3 separate regions of the Homo sapiens genome follow, and regions 1 and 2 are each linked to region 3. The links are contacts of gene promoters, found by promoter capture Hi-C in blood cells and fetal thymus (Javierre and others, 2016). All regions are on one chromosome and are shown on one strand. Each heading gives the region's core, a stretch centred on a gene start or on the middle of the fragment in contact. The rest is flanking DNA. Distances are from core to core; before and after follow the strand shown. Region 1 overlaps FAM227A (family with sequence similarity 227 member A). Region 2 overlaps FAM227A (family with sequence similarity 227 member A). Region 3 holds the start of KCNJ4 (potassium inwardly rectifying channel subfamily J member 4).

Region 1 (3,736 bases), core at 1,103-3,602, 160 kb before region 3:
GCCTTGAGAAGGTCAGTACGTGGCGTTTGAGCTGAGATTTGAAGGGTGTGTTGGTCCAAGGACCTGCAGCATCAGCATCTCTCCAAATCAACTGACTCCGACTCTGCAGTTGATCAGGACTTCCAGTGATCTAGAAGCATGTTCCAGTTTGAGAAGCCCTGGTTTAGGGCACTAAGTAATAGAATACCTGAAACCCTTAGAGCAGAGCACGGTGGTGGTTATTAGCTGGAAATTATAAGCTGGCACTTATTCAGGGCCAGACACTTTTTGGTTTTTTGGAGTCTTGCTCTGTCGCCCAGGCTGGAGTGCAATGGCGCAATCTCAGCTCACTGCAACCTCCACCTCCCAGGTTCAAGCGATTCTCCTGCCTCAGCCTCCCGACATAGACACTTTTACCTGTTAGCTCTCTAAGCATTTCCATTTCCTGATCCCTTCATAGATACGATTTCCCTGTAGTCATCATGCACACTCAGGGAGTTTTTTTTTTTTTCTTGTTTTCTTTTCTTTTCTTTCTTTTTTTTTTTTTTGAGACAGAGTCTTTCTGTGTCACCCAGGCTGGAGTGCAGTGGCGTGATCTCGGCTCACAGCAACCTCTGCCTTCCAGGTTCAAGCGATTCTTGAGCCTCAGCCTCCCAAGTAGCTGGGATTACAGGCATGCTCCACCACACCAGCTAATTTTTGTATTTTTAGTACAAAAATACAGGGTGAGACAGGGTTTCACCATGTTGCCCAGGCTGGTCTCAAACTCCTGAGCTCAAGCAATCCACCCACCTTGGCCTCCCAAAGTGCTGGGATTATAGGCGTGAGCCACCATGCCCGGCCGACTCAGGGAGTTTTTTCAAAGTGAAGAAAAACCTAACCCATAAATTGCTTGAGTTTAATGACATTTTAATGAATATTAAATTTAACAGCTATGAGTTTGATAGATTGTTTCTTAAGCATTTAAGCATTTTAATTTTGCAGAGCTCTGAATTGGTTTTTCTTCTGAAACCAGTCCTTTTTTTCCTGTGGGTTGAGTGTCTGCCCTATGCACAGAGCTGTGCATACTTTTTTTTTCTTTTTTTTCTTGAGACGGAGTCTCATTATGTCACCCAGGCTGGAGTGCAGTGACGCAATCTCGGCTCACTGCAAGCTCCACCTCCCAGGATCACACTATTCTCCTGCCTCAGCCTCCCGAGTAGCTGGGACTACAGGCGCGCGCCACCATGCCCGGCTGATTTTTTGTATTTTTTTTTTTAGTAGAGACAGGGTTTCACCGTGTTAGCCAGGATGGTCTCGATCTCCTGACCTCGTGATCCGCCCGCCTCGGCCTCCCAAAGTGCTGGGATTACAGGCGTGAGCCACCGCGCCGGCCCTGTGCATACATTATTTCCTTTAATTGGTGCATTCACCCTAGAGGGAGATAGTGTTCACAGTCTAACAGGACCAGGGTTAGGTAACTTGCCCAGCAGGTGGAGTCAACAGAGAGACCCTAGATCTGGTGGGTGTCACTGTCTCCAGAAAGGAGGCTGTCTCAAGCTCCTGGGCTACAATCTTCATTGTCCCATGACAAGAGGAATTAATAACAGCTTTTCCCCTTCTATAGGGAGAGAGTTTTCTTTGTTTGCTGGTAAGAGAGCCTTCTCCCAGAAGCCAGCCCAGAGCAGGAAATTCTACCACCCTCAGGTAAGTGGGGAGGCACGGACCAGGACCCCTTTGGAGTCCCATAAGCTTCAGGAACCCTCGGTTCTTCTGGAGCATCAGTGGCCTCCGGTTAGTTGCACATCTCTGTACCCCTTGCCCAGGTCCACTCCATCTTCTAAGTGAGGAGCCCTGGGAGGCCTCCAGGTCTCCCATGGGTAAGTGGCTAAGTGGCATACTAAGGGGCATTCACAGAAATGCAGCGATTGAGAAGAGAGAGGGAAGGAACCAGGTTTTCAGTGTAGGCTGCAGTGCAAGATGCTTTTACTTATTTTTTTTTCTCCACTAATCCTCATGGCAAACCTGAAACCTAGCAGTCATCCCTGATACGTACTTTCTCCTCTGCCCTATTGATGTTCCTTCTGATGTACCTCCCAGAACCACCTGTTTCTCACTTTTCCACTCCCACCACCCTAGTTTGAGCTCCCATCACTACTGCAGTAGGCACCTAACTGGTCTCCCTCAGGTTCTCAGATACTTCTAGGGCCATCTTTTCAAAGTGCAAAGCTAAGTACATCATCCCATCACCACCTGACCCTATCCTATCCCCCGACCCTAAAAACCCTACTTCCAGGCCAGGCACAGTGACTCACGCCTATAATCCCAATACTTTGGGAGCCCAAGGCAGGCAGATCACTTGAGACCAGGAGTCCAAGACCAGTCTGGTCCACATGGTGAAACCTCGTCTCTACTAAAAATACAAAAATTAGCCAGGCTTGGTGCCATGCACCTGTAGTCCCAGCTACTCAGGAGGCTGAGGCACAAGAATTGCTTGAACCCGGGAGGCAGAGGTTGCAGAGAGCTGAGATCACACCACTGCACTGCAGCCTGGGTAACAGGGCAAGACTCTGTCTCAAAAATAAATAAATAAATAAATAAATAAGATCCTACTTCTAGCCAATAAAATGACACCCTCCACACCCCAGAATGCTTCCTCTGGCCTTTAGTAGACTGACTTGCACAGCCTTGCTCATCTGGCTCAACCCCTTCTCCAACCTCCTGGGCTCTCAGGGGTCCTGCCTCAGGGGACTTCTTTTATTTCCTTGTATACCACACTCCCTTTCTGTATGTGGCCTCTGTACCTCCTGTTCTTCTTGTCCCAGGTAAGCTCCTATCACCATTGCCATTGTCACTGTCAGCATTTCCTCCCAACCCCCAAGTCCAGAGACATTGATAGCATGCAGTTAACCAAATGCCACAAATAAAGGCTTTTTTTTTTTTTTTTCTGAAGAGCTGGAAAAAAAAATCCCAGGGCAGGGTTTAGCAAACTATGAATCAGACCTTTCACTGCCTGTTTTTGAAAATAAAGCTTTATTGGCACACAGCCATGGCCATTCATTTACTATTGTCTACAACTACCTTCACACTGAAACAGCAGAGTTGAGTACTTGCGATAGAGACTTTAGGACCTGCAAAGCCGAATATTTATCATCTGGCTTTTTGCAGAAAAAGTTTGCTAACCCCTGGTCTAGGAGATATATAGTCATCCTTCCATCTCAGTTCAGATTCTTGTAGGGAGGGAAAAAAACCTTTTATCTACCCTCTGAGGCAAAGTGTATGGAGCCCTACAAGTTAAACTGACAAAAGATAGACAGTTTAACAGGAGAAAGGCATTCAAATTTTATTTGATGTTAGTATTTTTACATGACACAGGACTTCATTGGAAGAAAGCGAAAACCTCAAGGAAGTGGCTAGGTCTGATAGTTCACATACCACCCTAACAAAGAGCAATTAATTGTGGAGATGTGACAAGACAAAGGAAAAGAGGTTTAGGCTTCTGGGGATGGTAAATTGTGGGAAGGTAAATATATGGGAGAAACTAATGGAAGATAAGGATTCTTTCAATAAGATTTCTATATGCAGATTCAAGGGGTGCCATCTCCAGTGATGAGTTGTCTCTTCTTCCTGGTACTGGAGATGGGAAGTGGGGACACCTTCACAAAGGAAAATTTATGCTCTGCTTTTAGATGGAAACTGGAATTGTAAAGAGATTTCCTGCATCTGCTGTTTTTCAATTGCCTTCAGCTCAAAATAATTCCTATGCAAAGTGGCCTAT
Region 2 (4,058 bases), core at 1,468-3,967, 130 kb before region 3:
GCTGTCCTTGGCTTGTAGAGGCCTCACTCCAATCTCTGCCTCTGTCATCACCTGGCCTTCTTCATGTCTGTCTGCATCTATTCTTCTAAAGACAGCAGTCATATTGGATAAAGGCCCACCCTAATGTCTTCATTGAACTTGATTACATCTGCAAAGACTATTTCCAAAAAAGGTCTTATTCACGGGTACTGGGGTTTACAACCTTAACATGTCTTTTGGGGAACATATTCCCCAAAACCTATAACAGCTTTCTTCTTCTTCTTTTTTTCTTTTTTTTTTTTTTTTGAGATGGAGTCTTGCTCTATCGCCCAGGCTGGAGTGCAGTGGCGCGATCTTGGCTCACTGCAACCTCCGCCTCCCAGCTTCATGCCATTCTCCTGCCTCAGCTTCCCACGTAGCTGGGACTACAGGCACCTGCTACCACACCTGGCTATTTTTTTTTTTTTTTGTATTTTTAGTAGAGACGGGGTTTCACTGTTAGCCAGGATGGTCTCGAACTCCTGACCTCGTGATCCACCCGTCTCGGCCTCCCAAAGTTCTAGGATTACAGGCGTGAGCCACTGCGCCCAGCATTTTTTTTTTTTTTTTTTTTTTTTTAGACAGAGTCACTCTGTTACCCAGGCTGGAGTGCAGTGGTGCAATCTCGGCTCACTGCAACCTCCACTTCCCGGGTTCAAATGATTCTCCTGCCTCAGCCTCCTGAGTAGCTGGGACTACAGGTGTGCACCACCACGCCCGGCTAATTTTTGCATTTTTAGTAGAGATGGGGTTTCACCATGTTGGCCAGGCTGGTCTCGAACTCCTGACCTCAGGTGATCCACCCACCTCGGCCCCCCAAAGTCCTGGGATTACAGGCATGAGCCACCGCGCCTGGCTAAAATTTCTTTGTAGAGACAGGGTCTTGCTGTGTTGGCATTTTCAACGTATAGAATCATGCTATCTGTAAATAAAGATAGTTTTACTTCTTCATTTCCAATTTGGATGCCTTTCATTTCTTGCCTAATTATCTGTCTAGAGCTTCTGATACAAAGTGGAATACCAGCCATGAAAGGAGGCATTTTGTCCTGTCCCTGGTCCTAGGGAAAGGCTTTCAGTCTTTAACCATTGAGTGTGCTGTTATCTGTGGGTTTATCATAAATGTCCATAATCATGTTGGAGTAATTCCATCCTATTCCTATTTTTCTGATTGTTTATTATCATGAAATGCTGTTGGTTCTTGTCAAATGCTTTCTCTGCATCATTTGAGATAATTATGTAGGGTTTTCCCTTCATTCTTTTATTGTGCTCTATACACTGATCGATTTATGTTTCACTGAGGGGAACTACCTGGGATAAATCCCACTTGTTCCTAGTGTATAATCCTTTTAATATTTTAGTATTTGTTGAAGATCTCTGCATTTGTATTCTTAAGGAAGAGTGGTCTATAATTTCTTTTCTTGTCATTTCTTTGTCTAGTTCTGGTATCAGTATAATGCTGGCCCCATAAAATGAGCTATGAAATACTGTTACCTCTTCTATTTTTTGGAAGAGCTTGAGAAGAATTGGTGTTAATTCTTCCTTAATGGTTTGGTAGAATTCACAAATGAAGCCCTGTAGTCTTTCACTTTTCTTTGTTCAAAGGGAGATTTTTGATTATTGATTCAATCGTTTTATTTGTTATAAGTCTATGCAGAATTTTTATTTTTTTCTTGAGTCAGTTTTGGTAATTTGTGTATTTCTAGTTTTCCATTTCATATAGGCTATATAATTTATTGGCATTTGTATTCTCTTACAAGCTTTATTTCTGTAAGGTCGGTAATCATGTTCTCACTTTCATCTATGTGTGTCCTTTTCTTGGTAGTCATTCAAACTCAAAGTTTGTTAATTTTGTTGATAACTAACATTTTGTTTCTTTCAATTGACTTTCTATTTTTTCTATTCTCTATTTCACGTCCTCTGCTCTAATCTTAATCTCCTTCCTTCTACCAGCTTCAGATTTAGTTTGTGCTTCTTTTGCTAGGCCCATAAGTCATAAAGTGAAGTTATTGATTTGAGATGTTTCTTGTTTTTAAAACATAGGCATTTATGGCTATAAATTTCCCTCTTAGCACTGCTTTTGCTGCACTCCATAAGTTTTATTGTGTTATGTTTTTGTTTTTATTTCAAAATATTTTTTAGTATATCTTGTGATCTCTCCTTCAAGTTGTAGCATGTTCTTTCCAAATACGGACAGTGAACCTAAATAGAAGAAGTGTAGGCCAGGCACAGTGGCTCATGCCTGTAATTTCAGCACTTTGGGAGGCCAAGGCAGGCGGATCACGAGGTCAGGAGATTGAGACTATCTTGGTCAACATAGTGAAACCCTGTCTCTACTAAAAAAAAAAATACAAAAAACAAATTAGCTGGGCATGGTGGTGCATGCCTATAATCCCAGCTACTTGAGAAGCTGAGGCAGGAAAATCACTTGAACCCGGGAGTCAGAGGTTGCAGTGAGCTGAGATCGCGCCACTGCACTCCAGCCTGGCAACAGAGCGATACTCCGTCCCAAAAAAGAAAGAAAAAAATAAATGTAATGCTTTCGTGAAATATTAAAGGAAGTCCTTTAGGCTTGTGAGACTAGTCTCCATCCCATAGCCCAGCAAATAATATTCTGAAGATTCACATCTGGAGGTGTGAAGCAGATAGACAGAGTTAGAAAACACAATCCAGGTTTTCAGCGTCACCAGAGGGATGTCACCTCCAATGGAGTAGTACCTGCCTGCTACCTAGAGGTTTTTGGGGCCCAGTTCAGATCCGACACAGCAGTGTTCCTGTCAGTACTGGTGAAAGATGAAGGATGGAGGCACTGGGGATGTGGAAGCCGTGGATGCCAGCTGTCCTGCTCGACCACTTTCTCTGGAGGCAGGAGCACGCCCTCAATATTCCATGCACACAAGGATCACCACTGGCCACGCCACTGCTCACGTGCAAAGTCTTTGAAGAAATTACATTTTTTAAATTAATTTTTGTTTTTGTTCGTTTGTTTCCCCCACAGGAGGGGAAAGGAGGAGAGGGAAAGAGAAGAGAAACAGAAGTTGAACATTTCTTTCCACTCACTTCCAAGCCCTGAGGAGCTCCACAACCTAGAACCAGGAAGCGCCTACAGAATCCGTGATATTTCTGCTACGAGGTGGAGTGGAACAAGAAAATAAGAAAATTGTGGCCAAAGACAGAAATAGGAATCATGATTTCTCCATAGGGGAAGGATTCCGTTGTAGTTTTTCCTAGGCTGAGTGAAAAGCAGGAGTAGAGAGTTGGTGCTTGGGTCACTACATTTATTCATAGATTTACTCTTTCAGTATTTTATTACGTGCATGCTGGTAAGTATGTTACAAATATGACCTCATACAAAGGTAAAACTTTCATACCAGCCGTATGAAGTAGGGATTATCCACTGCATTTTACGCAGCAGCAAGCCCAGGTTTAGAAAGGTTTCCGAAGTTCTCTGCTGTAGACACTGGGTAATTAACAGTAGATAAGACACAGTCCCTGTTCTCAAGGGAGTCACCATCTGGTAGAGGGAAGACAGATGTATCAACACATTAAATGCTGTAAGTATTGGACAGAGGAAAAAGAGAAAAGTGTTGTGAGGGAAAAGGAAAATGGGCCTAGAGGAGTGCAATTTTTTGTAACAAGCTTTGTGGAACTATTAATTTGATAATTTGATAGGCGCTTCTATTATGCTGCCTCTGAACCTTTGCCTCCTGCTCCTCTAACCACTGGGATTGCCAGCCTATTTCCAATATGCCCTCTTTCTGCCTGGCAAACATCTTGTCTTTTCTAAACTCAGCCCAGGGACATGACATCTGTAATGTGTTTCTGTGTGACTCCCAGGCTTCTGCCTTCTTAACCTCTCACCTTCCAGCTCATTTGAGTGAATCTTTGTCCAAGAATTGAGAGAAACTTTATAGGTAAAGCATGCACATGTTGTCTGATTTAATCTAAAATAGAAATAAGAAAACAAAAAATAATACTGCAACTAGGGACACATTTAGTCACTCCCAGTTCATGAGACAAGGAATAGTAAAGTTCATTCCTAC
Region 3 (3,740 bases), core at 164-2,663:
TGTAGCTGGCTAGACAGGTGCTGTGGGTGCTGGGGGTTCCCTGACACCCCAGAGTGTGGGGCCCAGGCCTGACAGCTTGGGGTAATGGAGAGCGACAGAGAATAAGAGACTAGGGTTTGGCCTGGCTTTGTCATCTCTGGGTGACCTTGGCCGAGTTTCTGACCCTCTCTGGTACCCAGTCTCGCCATCTGTAAAATGGGGCAGTGGTGACTGAGTGATCGCGAGGGTCCCTCCAATAGGGCCCCCTCAGACTCCCAGAGTGAGGTGCTTCGGGTCCTTGACCGGCGGTACTTTGGGAGAGTACGAGGACCGCTAAGGAGAGGGGCGGACTCCGTGGGACCCCAGAGGGACCAGCTCCCACCCACCCCCCTTCCCGGCTCGGAGGAACCCTCTCCACCTGCCCCCTTTTGGGGGGGGGGCACAAAACCCGGGAGCGGATCCAGGAACGGGTTCTGGGAGGAGCGCTCCTGGGGCGAGGAGGAAAACCCGGGCAGGATCCAGGGCAGGAGCGGGGCCAGCAGCCCCCCGCCCCAGCCCCTGCTCCGCGCCGCGGGCCCCGCGGGAGGGGGCTTGAGGCCGGGTTAGGCCGAGGGGCGGGCAGGGCGGGGTCCCGCGGGCAGCCGGGGCTCCCGGGCTGGGGGGCGCGCGGCCTCCGCAGTGGGGCGCGGGTCACGTGTGAGGAGGGGCGAAAGTCTCGCAAAGCGGGGCGGCGTGCCGCGAGTTGGGAGTTCTCGGCGCGCCGCGGGCGGCGGGAGCTCGGGCTCCCGGGCGAGCCGGGGACGCGGCCAAGGCGGGGGCCGGGGTCCGAGACAGAGGGGGCCGCACGGAGAGTGGGAGGGGGAGAGACAGAGAAGGACAGGGGCCGCGAGGGAGACGGACAGAGACGCGCAGGGGAGAGAGGCAGCGCGGGCAGAGGGAGGCGGGGGGAGGCCGGCGGGCGACCGCGACGGAGACGGAGACCCCGCGGGCAGAGGGCGAGCGGGGCCGCAGGAGGCAGGGAGGCCGGGAGAGGGACCGGGACGCGAGCGCGGCGGAGACCCCGGCGGCAGGAGAGAGACGCGAGAGCGGTCGGGGAGGTGGCGACAGAGCCCGGCCGGCGGGGGCGGGGAGGGCGACCCCAGGCCGGGAGGCCGAGGGGTCGCGGGGCCGGGGCCGAGCGCAGCGGGGCCGGGAGTGGAGCGCAGGGCCGGGGGCAGAGCGCGCGAGCAGGAGCGGGTGACAGCGAGGGAGCTGGGCGCAGCGGGGGACGGCGGCGGGGAGGGCGCCTGCAGCGGGGGTGGGGGGCGCGGGCGGCGGGGCGCCCCGGGCCCCCGGACCCCCGCGCTGTGAGCCCGGCCGGGCCCGACGATGCTGACGCCGAGGCGGCGCCGAGGGCGCGGCGCGGGGCAGCGCTGAAAGTTGGGCGGCCCGCGGGGAGCGGCGCGGGACGGCCGGGACGCGCGGAGACCCCAAGACCCACGCGCAGACCGAGCGGCAGCCGGGGAGGGGAGCGCGGGCCGGCCGGCCGAGTTCGCGGGCAGGGGGCGCCGGGACTCCCCTTTCCGCGCCCGGGACGCCGCCCGCCGGATCGCGCCTTGGGATGTAGCGCCCGCTCGCCGCCTCCCGGACTCTCGTCGGACCCTCCGCCCAGCGGTAAGCCGCGCTCGCCCACCCCGGGCGCTGTCCGTCAGTTTGTCCCGCCGCGTGCGTGTCTGTGTGTCCCGGGCCCGCCGCTCCGGCCCCGCCCGCTCCGCACCTGATCCGGAGCCGGGTCCCGGCTGCCCGGCGCCGCGCGCGCGGTCCCGTGACTCCCCGGGAGCGGGCGGGCTCCACGGGCGGGCTCTGTCCGTCTGTCCGTCTGGGAGCGTCGCGGTCTGGGTTGTGGCCTGGAAAGGGGGAGAGAGGTGGGTGGAAGGGGTCTTGACCTCCTGCCCCAGCCATGACCTTTCCCTGCCTCCACCCACCCCAGTTGTCATGCCGGGGAGCTTCAAGGCAGGTGACTTGTGGCAAGGTGGGGGATGCCGCCTTTCCGCCTCCCCAGCTGCATCCTCGTTGCAAATGGCCCTGTGATCTGAAGAACGAAATCTCACTTCTCATGTTTTGAGCACCTACTTGGCGCCACACGACCCCAGGGCGCAGGGGCAGGGATTGGTAGAGGAGGCACTGCACGTTCACAGTGATAGACACAGGCTGGGGAGGGAGGCAGAGGCTGCTTTTTCCTCCGTGTGTAGGGAGCACCCCAAGGCAAGAGAGGTCTCAATGAGCCTCCCGCAGGGAGAACTTCCCCTGCAACCTGCCAAATGTCCCCCCACCAGTGTCAGCCTCCCTGCCCCCTACCCACATTTCTGCCCCCAGTGTCCCTGCTTCAGGATGGACAGGATGCAGGGAGTTGGGAGGTGGCAAGCTGGGTGGGGTGGAGCGGCGGGCTAGAGGCAGGGCAGCCTGGCCAGCTGACAGAGCAGGGCCTCAAGAGCAGTAGAATGTTCAGCAGCAGGTTTGGGGGAAGTGGGGAACTCAGGGAGGGAGGCCCAGAGAAGGGTTGGAGCCGTGTGTGTGTGTGTTCTCCCCCACATCCAGTCCCATGACCTCCATGGCTTCAGGCCTTTTGGGGGCAGTTAGCAGGACTTTAGGGGCCCAAGAGCCTCACTGTGGCCCTGGCTTGGCCTGTGCTGAGGGGAGCAAAAGGTGGACCAGGGCAGCTGGGGTAAGAGATGGGTGCAGCATGGTGGGAACAGAGACTGTTGGCCACTGAACTGACCCATATCCCAACTGGAGTTGGAAGGGCTGAGCCTAGAACATTCCACTCCATTCTCACTGGGAGGAGGGACTCTTTCTGGGGTGTTCCACACTGGGCAGTGGGTCTCATATGTCCTCCATTCAGCCTCCCAGAAATTAGCTCAGGTGGCTGGGAGAGCAGCCCCCTGGGCTGGTCACTCTCCTCCCAACCGTCATCTTCCACATCTGTGGCATGGGGACGTCACTCCCTGCCCCAGTGACCTCCAAGGCGGGCCCTGGGCTCAATGAGCAGTGGGCTGTTCACAGGCTGGGGAAAGCACTGGGGAGATGGGAGTAAAGACTCACTTTACCTTAAGAGAGATGAACAGCTAGTGGGTGGAGGTGGGCGTGGGGCAGTGGGAATATGGCGGAAATAGCTGACGAAGGAGGAGTGTCCAGGATTAGAGGGGGAATCTGGGGTACAATTCCTCATGGCCCTTTGGGTTATCCTTGAAAAGAAAGCTCTTCTCTCAGAAAATCCTCTGGAGTGGCTGTGACCAGGCAGAGCTGGTTGAGTTTCTGCTGGGTGACCTTGGGTGGGTGGCTTGACCTCTCTGAACCTCAGTTTCTTCAACTGGAGAATAGGTATGATGATACTGACTTCATCAGGGTGTTGAGCAGTTTCCAGACTGTGTCAGGTCTGTGAAAGCCGCGTGCGCCAGCCTGGAGCATAGTAGGTTCGTAGACATTTGCGAAAGAGAGAATGAAGTAGCTCTGGGAGATGCTGTGAGAAGATGTCTTAGCTTAGGATAAGAAGGAAGGGGAGGAGGAACAGTGTAGGCTTACAGGGCGGGCTGGTTCTTAATGTGGATCTGGGGGAGGCGGGGGCGAGTGCTAAGGGGGGTGTGAGGAGGAGGGGGCCCCTCTGCGGGGACCACTGAGTCACGAGGACATGTAAGCGACATGACAACCGGCAACATGGTAACCAGGAAACTAGCGGCGGTGGGAAACAGAGCTGGAGCAGTGTGGGGTGGGGGTGGCGGGTA

What was found. The method cuts DNA at HindIII sites, captures the fragments that hold promoters and counts their contacts. A CHiCAGO score of 5 or more calls a contact.
Region 1: a fragment that was not itself captured here is called in contact with the fragment with the promoter of KCNJ4 in region 3 in 1 of 17 cell types (M1 macrophages); the score reaches 7.2 in M1 macrophages.
Region 2: a fragment that was not itself captured here is called in contact with the fragment with the promoter of KCNJ4 in region 3 in 7 of 17 cell types (M1 macrophages, M0 macrophages, M2 macrophages and 4 more); the score reaches 10.2 in M1 macrophages.

Annotation. Positions count from the first base shown.
Region 1 is chr22:38,618,141-38,621,876 of GRCh38, reverse strand. It overlaps FAM227A (family with sequence similarity 227 member A), which reads left to right. Exons shown (of 17, transcript NM_001013647.2): 11 at 1,586-1,665. Among named protein-coding and RNA genes, the nearest start is that of FAM227A, 36 kb to the left of the region's middle. The HindIII fragment of the contact is 1,279 bases long and covers 1,713-2,991 here.
Region 2 is chr22:38,585,155-38,589,212 of GRCh38, reverse strand. It overlaps FAM227A (family with sequence similarity 227 member A), which reads left to right. Exons shown (of 17, transcript NM_001013647.2): 17 at 3,014-4,058. The coding sequence ends at 3,088. Among named protein-coding and RNA genes, the nearest start is that of DMC1, 17 kb to the right of the region's middle. RefSeq lists a silencer at 3,402-3,602. The HindIII fragment of the contact is 1,879 bases long and covers 1,778-3,656 here.
Region 3 is chr22:38,452,872-38,456,611 of GRCh38, reverse strand. KCNJ4 (potassium inwardly rectifying channel subfamily J member 4) reads left to right here and starts at 1,413. Exons shown (of 2, transcript NM_152868.3): 1 at 1,413-1,632. RefSeq lists an enhancer at 3,517-3,740. The HindIII fragment of the contact is 17,538 bases long and covers 1-3,740 here.